Regions from separate parts of the Homo sapiens genome. Here region 1 is linked to region 2. Evidence: promoter capture Hi-C in human tissues and cell types (Jung and others, 2019). All regions are on one chromosome and are shown on one strand. The core of a region is centred on a gene start or on the middle of the fragment in contact, and the rest is flanking DNA. Distances in the headings are between cores, read along the strand shown.

Evidence for each region. The method cuts DNA at HindIII sites, captures the fragments that hold promoters and counts their contacts. A contact is called where the count stands out against the background at its distance.
Region 1: a contact is called between a fragment that was not itself captured here and the fragment with the promoter of CDKN2B in region 2, in 1 of the 25 tissues and cell types used here (dorsolateral prefrontal cortex).

The regions. Positions count from the first base shown.
Region 1 is chr9:21,664,915-21,670,704 of GRCh38, reverse strand. No RefSeq gene overlaps it. Among named protein-coding and RNA genes, the nearest start is that of MIR31HG, 110 kb to the right of the region's middle. The HindIII fragment of the contact is 6,599 bases long and covers 398-5,790 here.
Region 2 is chr9:22,004,854-22,011,450 of GRCh38, reverse strand. It overlaps CDKN2B (cyclin dependent kinase inhibitor 2B), which reads left to right and starts at 2,146. Exons shown (of 2, transcript NM_004936.4): 1 at 2,146-2,653; 2 at 5,204-6,597. The coding sequence starts at 2,498. The coding sequence ends at 5,464. The region is part of intron 1 of CDKN2B-AS1 (CDKN2B and CDKN2A antisense cis and trans regulatory RNA 1); the gene reads right to left. RefSeq lists silencers at 187-481, 2,605-2,804. The HindIII fragment of the contact is 12,658 bases long and covers 1-6,597 here.

The DNA of each region.
Region 1 (5,790 bases), core at 2,448-4,947, 340 kb after region 2:
CATACACCTCTTGTTTTATTTGGGAAAATGTATTGATGGGGCATCTGAGTCATATTCTCATTCTTCCTTGAACCTCACCCCAAACTCGGGGGTAAGAACCTTGTGATAAGGCAGGGTGAGACAAACCACATCGCTTTCATTTTCTCTCTTTTTCTTCCTGCCCAAATGGAACAGACAGAAGCCCAACTAGCAGCATAGTGAGGTAGCAACCTCAGGCATTTAGACCAAAACTAAACACAGATGAGACAGAATCAGGGAAGTTCTTTGTCAGAGGGCAGATATTACATTTGGACCCCACTTTATTGCAGGAGGCATGAATCTATTAAATTCAACATTTCTTATTCAATTGGGTAGATATTATCCAAATATCACCTCTGGTACCTCTTTCTGGGGTCTTACCTGTTCCGTAACAGAATAAAACTTGATGTAGATAGCTTCAAGTATAATTACTTAGTAGAATAAATAAGAAAACCCTACTTAGTTTCAAAAGTCATTGAATTTAGTAAACACTCCCCCTCTTCAACGAAAATCATATACAGTAAGAAAGAAAAATAGAAATAGAAAATAAGCAGTAAGGATAAGAAGAATGCAAATGCGATGACAGTAAAAGTTAACATAATAGCCATGTTTAACTTTAAAATTAGACACTAAAATCTGGGCGACTAAGGAAGAAAACAATCAATCATCCATAGCCTTTTGTGGCTGTCGATCACCAACATCTGCATGACCTGGGATTTTGTTAGAAGTGCAAATTCTCAGTACAGCCATTATGGAAAATAGTTTGAAAATTTCTCAAAAACTTAAAAATAGAGCTTTCGTAATGTTCCAGGAATCTCACTTCTGGCTATACATCCAAAGGAAATGAAATCAATATGTTGAAGAGATATTTGCACTCCTCTGTTTATTGCAGCACTAGTCACAATAGCTAAGATACAGAATCAATCTAAGTGTCCATCAACAGATAAATAGATAAAGGAAATGTGGTGTATATACACAATGGAATACTGTTCCACCATAAAAAAGAAGAAAATCCTGTCATTTGTGACAACATGGATGAACCTGGAGGACATTATGGTAAGTGAAATAAGCCTGGCGCAGAAAGACAAATACCGCATGATTTCCCTTATATGTGGAATCTAAAGAATTGACTTATTAGAAGAGGAGGGTGGAATTGTGTTTACCGGGGGCTGGCAGGGTGGGTTGAGGAGATGCTTGTCAAAGGGTACAAAATTTCAGTTATATTGGAGAAATAAGTTCAAGAGATCTATGATACAACATGGTCACTATAGTTAATAAAAATGTGTTGTATTCTTGAAAATTGCCAGGAGAGTAGATATTAAGTGTTCTCATACCACAAAAAATAAGTATATAAGGTAATATATATGTTAATTAGCTTGATTTAGCTGCATATATTTTACATATAATATATTAACATATAATACTATAATACCTATATAATATAAAAATATAAAAGTATATATTAACTTATAATACATATATTAATTAGCTCGATTTAGCCACATATATTTGAAATACATGTTTATAATATTTCAAAACATCATGTTGTACATGATAAATATATACAATTTATATTTGTCAATTAAGAAAAATAAATGAATAAATCAGAATAAAAAGAAATTCAAAATTTCAGGCATAACTCTAGACCCACTAAATCAAAGTCTTGGGAATAAATTCCAGGAATCTTTATTTAACAAGCTTTCTGAGCGATTCTGATACCTTTTAAAGTATGATAAGCTCTGCTGTTTCATAATCAGAGGTGGTAAATTAGGGAAAATTCTTTTGGGGCAGCAACAGACCACCAGCAATGTGCTTCAGCTTCAAGTGCTGAGTGAGCAAGCAAGACCCTGATTGGAAAGAACCTTTTTGGAGCCAGCTGGCAGACCCGAAACAATTCTGGGCACGAATATTCTGGGCACAGGGACTCCACTGTGTGGCTGCCAGAGCCTACCTCTCAGAGAAGCACTGGGGCCAGCCAAGAAACAAATGCCATTTCTTTCACTTCCTTTTTCTTCTCTTTCCTGACCCAGTGGCACTGGTGACCTGCCCGCCAGATTTAATTACAGGCTGGGAGAGAAGTTCTAGTGTTTAGATTTGGTTCCCTAAGGAAATAATGACTGATTTCAGCTGGTGAGATTTGTGCTTTCAAAAGGATAGAAGGACTGCATGAGCTCAGAAGCCTGAAAGATTAGCATCCTCTGTGAGAGCATCCAACCAACCTCAAGGATGAGCTGAAAACAGGATGAACAGTGGCCAAGAAATGTAGTTCACCTTGCTGGGATTTATGGCGCAGCCAGGAATATTTGTAGGAAGCACAGAAACCTGTCCAGGTTCAGCACTAGCCCACACACATTCCTGGAGACTTGTTTCTTCTTTATCATATAGTGGTTAGCAACATATAACATATATATTGGGTTCACAGGTCTAGGCTCATATTTCCCAAAAATAAGCCTAGTGCATCCTCTTTATTCTTCTCACACTTTCATTCTGTTTCTGGTACTTAAGGCAGATGTCAGAGTAAATGTTTGTCTCCCCAAAGCATCATAAATACACATAGAAGGATTTAAAATGAGAAATACCATCTCCCTCATAGGATTAATAACATAAATATTATCCATTTTTCACTTGCATGGAAACTTATAGACCTCTTTTTTGTTGTTGTTAAATTGTGTCAAAGTTTTGCCTAGAGGCTGAAATGCAGTGTCCATAAGAAACTTCATTTTCCTCTTCAATTTAAAGAAGGTTTCAATCACAAAGATAATTATAATGGAACATGAAAAACTAGTATTAATTCTTCCTCATATTTTAACATGTCCTTATTGAAGTTTAAAATGAAATATATATATCAAGTTGATCTTTACGTAAAATATTGACTAGAACCCAGAGATACAAATAGTAAGAACTACTTGGTGTTCAGTTTGGTCGTTGCAATGAAAGAAAATGCTCATTTCCCACAATCCTGTCCAAATTAAAAACCTTTTTGAACGAGTGACCTATTATGATAAGGAGACATCTCTGGTTACAACTCTTACAAAACTTCAACTTTTTTTCAACACAACAAGCATCACTTTTGACACTTCTGCTCCACAGAAGACAGAAGCCCTTACAAATTTGCTGTCTCTCAATCAGTCCCATTCTTTGCGTTAGAGGTCAGAGGCTCGAGGTAATAAAGTTGGTGTGAACTTTTTGTGATATCCAGAGGGAGAACCCAGCTTTACATGCAGAGAAATGCTAAGAGAGAAATTATTTCTTTTAAATATTTTGGAAAAATTGTCATTTTTCCCTATACAAATACAATAGAACAACGAGTAGAGTGGAAGATATCTTGGATTTGACACTAGAAGTCACTGGTTCATGTTCTAGATCTCCTCACTAAGTTTTTGAGCCTGAATGAAGCACTTGAAGTGTCTGAGTTTCTATTTTCTCATTCTATAAAGTAGGTCATAGCAAGATCCAGTACCACCTTTAGACCCTGAATTTTGAAGGGCTCTGATCTAGTTTTCCTATGGTGTCCCTTCACAAAGGGTTAAAGGTCAAAGGGACCAAGGGAAGCCTGGCTCACCCAGACCTTTTCTAGACTATGATCTGAGACACAGCTTTCTAGAGTTCTATGTCCAAAGTGGACCCAAGCTCTATTCTAGGAATAAGCATGTTCCCTGGCCCATCCTCCTGAGGGCATAGCATAGGCCAAAGAAGTGGCCAAGGGAATTCTATTTGCATAGTGTGGACAGACCTTGCACATAACAGGCTAGAGTATCCACATACAAGTTTCAAGGTCCCTTATGATCTAGGAATGAGTGAGGAATGAGAAAAGCAAGTTGGGAGGCCATGGACTGAAGGTTTCCATTTGTATTTTTGCTGGGACTTCACAGATGTCATGGGGAGGTCCACTGTATCTGCCTATCTTATTGCATCATTCATTCCAAACCAGATACTGAATGGCTGTTCTTGTCTGACATAATGTAGTCTCTGTTAACAGAAAGACAAGGAACCTCATACTTTAGAAATCATCAGTCTAATGGGAAGGCTTCTAATTATAAAGACATATTTTCTTTTCTTTTCTTTTTTTTTTTTTTTTGAGGTGGAGTCTCACTCTGTCGCCTAGGCTGGAGTGCACTGCCACAATCTCGGCTCACTGCAAGCTCAGCCTCCCAAGTAGCTGGGACTACTGGCGCCCGCCACCATGCCCGGCTAATTTTTTGTATTTTTAGTAGAGACGTGGTTTCATCGTGTTAGCCAGGATGGTCTCGATCTCCTGATATTGTGATCCGCCCGCCTCAGCCTCCCAAAGTGCTGGGATTACAGGTGTGAGCCACCGCACCAGGCCTGTAAATATATATTTTCAACAGAATATGTAAAGGGCTATAAAACGCCACCTTCTTCTTACCCCCTGCATCAGCTCAAATGACAGCAGACTCCTGAGTCAGCCTTGTCCAGTCATTGGAACAAATGTCAATCAAGATCACACTGCATGGCAAGAAAGCGCCATGAGGAGAAGATTCTACAAACAAGTTAATCTCACTTTGTGTATATGACACAGGACACGTTTGTTGTCCCCACATTTGTTGTAGGGATGTGATAGCAGAGAAGTCAAGAGCCACCAACTCTGGAGCCATAGACACTGGGAGCTGAACCTCTTTTTGCCATACACTATTAATATTTCTTATGACTAATAACTTTTCTAAGCTCAGTTTCTTAATTTGTAAAATGGAGATAAAGCTCTTTTCCTCCTATGCAAAATGGAACTACTGTAAATATTATAGAAAATAAAAATTTTAAAGTACCTAGTATAGGATCTGGTATATAGTGAGCACTAAATAAATGAAAGCTATTATTAAAAAGCTGAGGAAGTCAATTGGATTTATGTATCATTTCTTTATATGCACAGCATATATATTTTCTATAACTCTATATTGCATTTTCCAAGAGTCATTGCAAAATAAAATTTTATATAATCTAAAGAAGCAGCATCCAGCTTTTAATGTTTCTTCTTGATTCAACTTCTTTGTGGGTAGAGATTGTCTTATTTATGTTTTTCTTTCTTTATACCTAGGATGGTCCCTGGCATGATATGTTTTGGCGGGCTGAATAAATACATGAATTTAAGAGAGAGGGAGAAAACATTTTCAGTCATGTTCAATGTCTATGATCACTTACCTTAAACTGAAAACAAGACAGTTATTGGAATTTCTCTAAAGGCAGATGCAGTAGGAGCTTTGCCCTCCTCCTCTCAACCAGAACAAACTGAATTTTATGGAAGAAAATTCTTAGCTGACTCTTTAAGACTGTAAAAGGACATCGGAAATAGAATCATTTGTGTATAGTGATTGGCTTTACATATTCAGCTTTCATGGAGTTAAGGAGACTGTTCTAAGAAATAAAATTTAACTTGTTATCAGTTGAATATTTATCCAAAAGATGACTAGATGACATACTCAATCCTTTTATGACCTATACATCTGGGAAATAAAAGATACCAAGACCAAGAAAAACAGAAACATCTTTTCAAGTGATTGTTGTCCCTCCCTCCCAACTCCTATGAGAACATACGTCTGAAAACATTAGAAATCAATGGGAAAAGATAATTAAATATTCGAAGTTTCTCTTTATCATAACTTTTTTTTTGTTGTTGTTTTTGAGATGGAGTCTGCCCAGGCTGGAGTGCAGTGGCGTGATCTTGGCTCACTGCAACCTTCGCCTCCAGAGTTCACGTGATTCTCCTGCCTCAGCCTGCTGAGTAGCTGTGATTACAGGCACCCGCCATCATGCCTA
Region 2 (6,597 bases), core at 897-3,396:
TGAAATATGGACACATGCCACAGAGGAGTTTTATGAGTATTAAATGAAACAACAGCTGTAAAGCACTTCGTACAGAGTACACAATAAGTTTGATTTCTCTTCTCGTCTTCTAAATATAGACTATATAATATTCTTTATACAGAGAATATTAGATAAAATCCAATCATATTTGAAAACCAGGTTGAGCAGGTTGGTTTTTCAAAGAAATTCATTGAGCTTCCATAATGTCCTTTCTATTTGACGGGAGAAAAGGGGCTTTGGAAGATCAAGTGTGAAGCTTTAGAATTCTGTCTGGAGCTGGTTAGGACCACCCAGGCCTGAGTATAAGCAAAGCGCTGTCCGTGGTGCTAGTAAGCGCGAATGCCCCCGGCAACGTTTTCCCTACCCAAAGTTGTTTTTCATTCAGTCAACTTGCTTCGCGAAGCTCACACATCTGCCTCGTGCAAGATTCTCAGTCATTTTACTTAGTCATTGGTTCTTTCCCTATCACCATTCTTTATGTCCCCCTCAAAGAAAAACATTATCTTCCATTTCCTTATCAACTCCAAACAGCTTTCATTTTTCTGACATATTTACTACCTAAGAAAATGGCTCAAGAATTGGGTCAGACTATCTTGTCCTAACTTTTCTGATAAGTTTCAGAGAAACTCAAAGGTCAAAACAAGAGCATAAGAGTAAAAGGTAGAGAAATTAAGAAACTGAAGACTAGGAAATGGGGGTTGGATGGGAAAGAAAAAGAAATTGTTATTAATGCTACCCGGTTCCCTTCCCTGTCCAGGTGGATTTCAGCTCTGTTGAGGCTCTGTCAGTAGATTTTCAGCCCTAACCAGCACTTCCATGGTGGTGGCACTTCCACTGCCTTTAAAAGAAAGAGCTTTTTTTAATTCTACAGGGATTTGGGGGATGAGGAGTCAGAGCTAAGGTATCCTAAAAAAAACATGTGAAGACTCTCATTTTGCAATACACAAGCAATTGCCCTCCTGTTAAGACTTTGTCTTCCTCAGCACTCCGAACCAAAATGATTCTGTAAACAAAAATTGTTCACTTTTAGGAGAGGTCCACTTATGCAGTTCCTCACCAAAGTTTTTAGGCAACAAATCCATAACTTGCGGTTCTCTTCCTATCCAATGTAGCATCCGCTGAAATGTTTTAAATATTTTAAGTAATAAATGTTGATTCAAACTCACCTAGGAAGATTAGGAAGGGGAAAAAAAGCACTTGGCATTTAAATCTTCAGAAGAGAATTTAATGACAGGTTCAGCCTGTTTAATGACAAGCCCAGCACCACACCCCTCTCTTATGATGTTTCATTATTACTGCATAAATTTCCTTTATTACTCATGATAAATAAAAATAAGATACCTGACAAAGTGGGTTTAAATAGGTAAGAGTGCAAACAAAGATTTACTGTACAAATATGATGAAACTGGGATCTCAGATTCTTAAAGTATAATTTTTTTTTGTCTTATGTGTGCCAGGTTGCCACTCTCAATCTCGAACTAGTTTTTTTCTCTTTTAAGGGTTGTATCCATAATGCAAAAATGGAAAGAATTAAAAAGCACACGCAAAACATGATTCTCGGGATTTTTCTCTATTTTTATGGTTGACTAATTCAAACAGAAAGACACATCCAAGAGAAAATTGCTAAGTTTGATACAAGTTATGAAACTTGTGAAGCCCAAGTACTGCCTGGGGATGAATTTAACTTGTATGACAGGTGCAGAGCTGTCGCTTTCAGACATCTTAAGAAACACGGAGTTATTTTGAATGACTTTCTCTCGGTCACAAGGGAGCCACCAACGTCTCCACAGTGAAACCAACTGGCTGGCTGAAGGAACAGAAATCCTCTGCTCCGCCTACTGGGGATTAGGAGCTGAGGGCAGTGGTGAACATTCCCAAAATATTAGCCTTGGCTTTACTGGACATCCAGCGAGCAGTGCAGCCAGCATTCCTGGCGGCTCCCTGGCCCAGTCTCTGGCGCATGCGTCCTAGCATCTTTGGGCAGGCTTCCCCGCCCTCGTGACGCGTCGGCCCGGGCCTGGCCTCCCGGCGATCACAGCGGACAGGGGGCGGAGCCTAAGGGGGTGGGGAGACGCCGGCCCCTTGGCCCAGCTGAAAACGGAATTCTTTGCCGGCTGGCTCCCCACTCTGCCAGAGCGAGGCGGGGCAGTGAGGACTCCGCGACGCGTCCGCACCCTGCGGCCAGAGCGGCTTTGAGCTCGGCTGCGTCCGCGCTAGGCGCTTTTTCCCAGAAGCAATCCAGGCGCGCCCGCTGGTTCTTGAGCGCCAGGAAAAGCCCGGAGCTAACGACCGGCCGCTCGGCCACTGCACGGGGCCCCAAGCCGCAGAAGGACGACGGGAGGGTAATGAAGCTGAGCCCAGGTCTCCTAGGAAGGAGAGAGTGCGCCGGAGCAGCGTGGGAAAGAAGGGAAGAGTGTCGTTAAGTTTACGGCCAACGGTGGATTATCCGGGCCGCTGCGCGTCTGGGGGCTGCGGAATGCGCGAGGAGAACAAGGGCATGCCCAGTGGGGGCGGCAGCGATGAGGGTCTGGCCAGCGCCGCGGCGCGGGGACTAGTGGAGAAGGTGCGACAGCTCCTGGAAGCCGGCGCGGATCCCAACGGAGTCAACCGTTTCGGGAGGCGCGCGATCCAGGTAGCTGGGGCCCCAGGGCCTCGCCGGCAGGGGGCGCGCGAACGCGGGGCGCGGCCTCGGCGGATCGGGGCTGGAACCTAGATCGCCGATGTAGATTTGTACAGGAGTCTCCGTTGGCCGGAGGTGTGCATTCCACGCGTAAAACAGGCTTTTACCCAGCAAAAATCCTAAAGAGAGACATTGAAAAACCCACTGTTTAAGCTTTTTTTAGTGGTTTTTGTTCTGCCATCTCATGATCAGAGATGCAAGGAATAGACTGAATTGGGGAGAAAAGGAGAAAAGGAAAGCTTATTTAGGGAAGAAGATTATCTTGTCTGTCTGCTTTCAACGATAAAGATAAGTAAAGTATAAGTTACGCATTCTAGATTGGATTTAAGGAATTCTACAAAATCATAGTACATGGAAAAAATCAATGTAAACTTCTAAGCTACTATATGAAATCTGTTGTATTGTTTTCTCATAGAGGTTAATTGAGAATGAGACGGGATTCCTCAACCACAGTACTTAGTTCCTTTTATGTTAGCAGTGTCTTATGAGTGATGCATAAGAGAAAAAATATATAGTTCTATAGGTTTCTCATTCTTTAATTATCATACTCAGTGCCCAGATTACAAAAATATTCCTGCAGCAACTGTTAGGTCCTTTTTGAATGGCAAAGGATCTTCATAAATAATGCATCTTTATCTTCATTGTTAAAATACACTTATTCAATGTTTAAGTACGAATCCTGCTTTAATTAGTACTGATATTTTTTATTTCTTTTACAATCTCGGACAACTCTTTTGTACTTTACCGTTGGCTAGTGGTCATATTCAGTACTCACCTCACTATCACCCTCTAAAACTAAGCTAATATTAAGGGATCTTGTTAATAGTATAGATTTTAAAGAAGTGTTCATTTCTTTTGAATTCTTAGAATAATGGTATAACAAATGAGGGATTTTTAAAGGAGCAAAAATATTGTAAAGTGCATCTTAAAAACTTAAAATTTTATTAATAATTATAAAAACAAGTTATATATGTAATTCACCATTTTCTGAAATACTAACAGCAGCTATTTTCCCCTTTTTTTCTATGTAAAATATCCTTACATCACTAGTAGATATAACTTATCACGGTTTTTAAGAGATGAAATGAACATTTCTAATATTAATGAAACAAGCCAACAAAACATGAGAAGTATACTGCCTTTCAATTAAATGGTATATTTTAAAGTGCATAAACCCATAACAAATAACTCGATTTTAGACATTTAGTTACCAAAAATTGTCTTATAATTGACTTTAAATATGACAGCAAATGTTTTCATAATGTTCATGTACACAAATGGCTGCTACAGGATTACTCCTGCAAAACATCATTTTTTCTAAGTTATGCATCATCCTGATTGACTGCTAACATCCAAGCTCTATTTATTTATTTATTTATTTTATTTTTTTTGAGATGAGGCCTCACTCTGTCGGACAGGCTGGAGTGCAGTGGCACAATCTCAGCTCACTGCAACCTCTTCCAGGATGCAAGCGATTCTCCTGCCTCAGCCTCCTGAGTTGCTGGGACTACAGGCACGCCCCACCATGCCCAGCTAATTTTTTATTTTTTGTAGTAGAGACGGGATTTCACCATGTTGGCCAGGCTGGTCTCGAACTCCTGACCTCAGGTGATCTGCCTGCTATGGCCTCCCAAAGTGCTGGGATTACAGGCATAAGCCACTGGGCCTGGCCCAAGCTCTTTTTATATAGCAAAATATTTACTGTTTAACATTTTTAAATCTTAGCTATTATAAAATCCTGTAGTATACAAATATAGTTAGTTTTATATTACATTAAAAATATTATAGTCTAAATTTAAAATGATGAACTGTTAAGGAAAAATCATTTATTATAATTTTATAAGATTTTGCATGATTTAATTTACTTTTCCCTTCTAATCTCCAACTTTGGCTCAAATTATCACACTACAAGCCAGTTATGAGCTCAGACACATGACAAACAAAAGCCTTCCGCACGGGATTTGCTATGAGAACTAAATAAATTAAAAAAAAAAGAAAGAAAAAAACTTAGTTGTTTATTTTCTCCCCTAAACCATTACTCCCAACTTCTAACAAACAGTAGTTGACTACCTAATAAATATTTGTAGACCTGGATTATGGAGGAGGGGTCAGCAAGGCAAATAATTTAAAACTTTAAAAGCCGAATAAATTTAACTCTGCCCCTAAATCATTTAACAAAATAGATTCCCATGTTCCAATGGAAATCAAGATTTGTTTTTCCATAATGATGATCATCACTTTACCATCAACTTTCTTGTCTCTGCACGTTTAGAGAATAAAATGGCATTTAATTTGTACTGAGTATAACCTGAAGGTGGGGTGGGAAAGTGGATTGCATCAGCAAATGAAGAAACACCAGACATCAGAGACCTGAACACCTCTGCACTGGGTGAAAACTTTGCAATTAGGTGTTTCTTTAAATGGCTCCACCTGCCTTGCCCCGGCCGGCATCTCCCATACCTGCCCCCACCCTGGCTCTGACCACTCTGCTCTCTCTGGCAGGTCATGATGATGGGCAGCGCCCGCGTGGCGGAGCTGCTGCTGCTCCACGGCGCGGAGCCCAACTGCGCAGACCCTGCCACTCTCACCCGACCGGTGCATGATGCTGCCCGGGAGGGCTTCCTGGACACGCTGGTGGTGCTGCACCGGGCCGGGGCGCGGCTGGACGTGCGCGATGCCTGGGGTCGTCTGCCCGTGGACTTGGCCGAGGAGCGGGGCCACCGCGACGTTGCAGGGTACCTGCGCACAGCCACGGGGGACTGACGCCAGGTTCCCCAGCCGCCCACAACGACTTTATTTTCTTACCCAATTTCCCACCCCCACCCACCTAATTCGATGAAGGCTGCCAACGGGGAGCGGCGGAAAGCCTGTAAGCCTGCAAGCCTGTCTGAGACTCACAGGAAGGAGGAGCCGACCGGGAATAACCTTCCATACATTTTTTTCTTTGTCTTATCTGGCCCTCGACACTCACCATGAAGCGAAACACAGAGAAGCGGATTTCCAGGGATATTTAGGAGTGTGTGACATTCCAGGGGTCGTTTGCTTTTCAGGGTTTTCTGAGGGAAAGTGCATATGAAATCCTTGACTGGACCTGGTGGCTACGAATCTTCCGATGGATGAATCTCCCACTCCAGCGCTGAGTGGGAGAAGGCAGTGATTAGCACTTGGGTGACGGCAGTCGATGCGTTCACTCCAATGTCTGCTGAGGAGTTATGGTGAACCCACAACTTAGGCCCTAGCGGCAGAAAGGAAAACCTGAAGACTGAGGACAAAGTGGAGGAGGGCCGAGGTGGGCTTCAGTAAGTCCCCGGCGGCGCTTTAGTTTGAGCGCATGGCAAGTCACATGCGTAAACGACACTCTCTGGAAGCCCTGGAGACCCTCGCCCAACTCCACCAGATAGCAGAGGGGTAAGAGAGGATGTGCAAGCGACGACAGATGCTAAAATCCCTGGATCACGACGCTGCAGAGCACCTTTGCACAGGATGCTGGCCTTTGCTCTTACTACACTGAGGAGAGATTCCCGCGGGTTCCGCAGGCAGACTACACAGGATGAGGTGGTGGAGTGGAGTGAGAGCAATTGTAACGGTTAACTGTAACGTTTTCTTTCACACACACACACACACACACACACACACATGCTAGGATGCGGAAATCCCCTTATGACTTGCTACTTTTTGATTTTGTGATATTTTGTACTTTTTAGTTGTTCAGCAACTGTCTTATTTAATGGGGAGATTTTAAGTAACATAACTAGTGGCTCTCAGTTAAAATGTGAGGAAGAACTACAGCTCTTAAATGTAGCAATGGCACTGTTGCAAACTCAGTGCAAACGCCTAGATTGCTTTCTTCTTAACCTATTTATTTCTTTGTTAAATTTTTCTGATTGTTTCCTTTA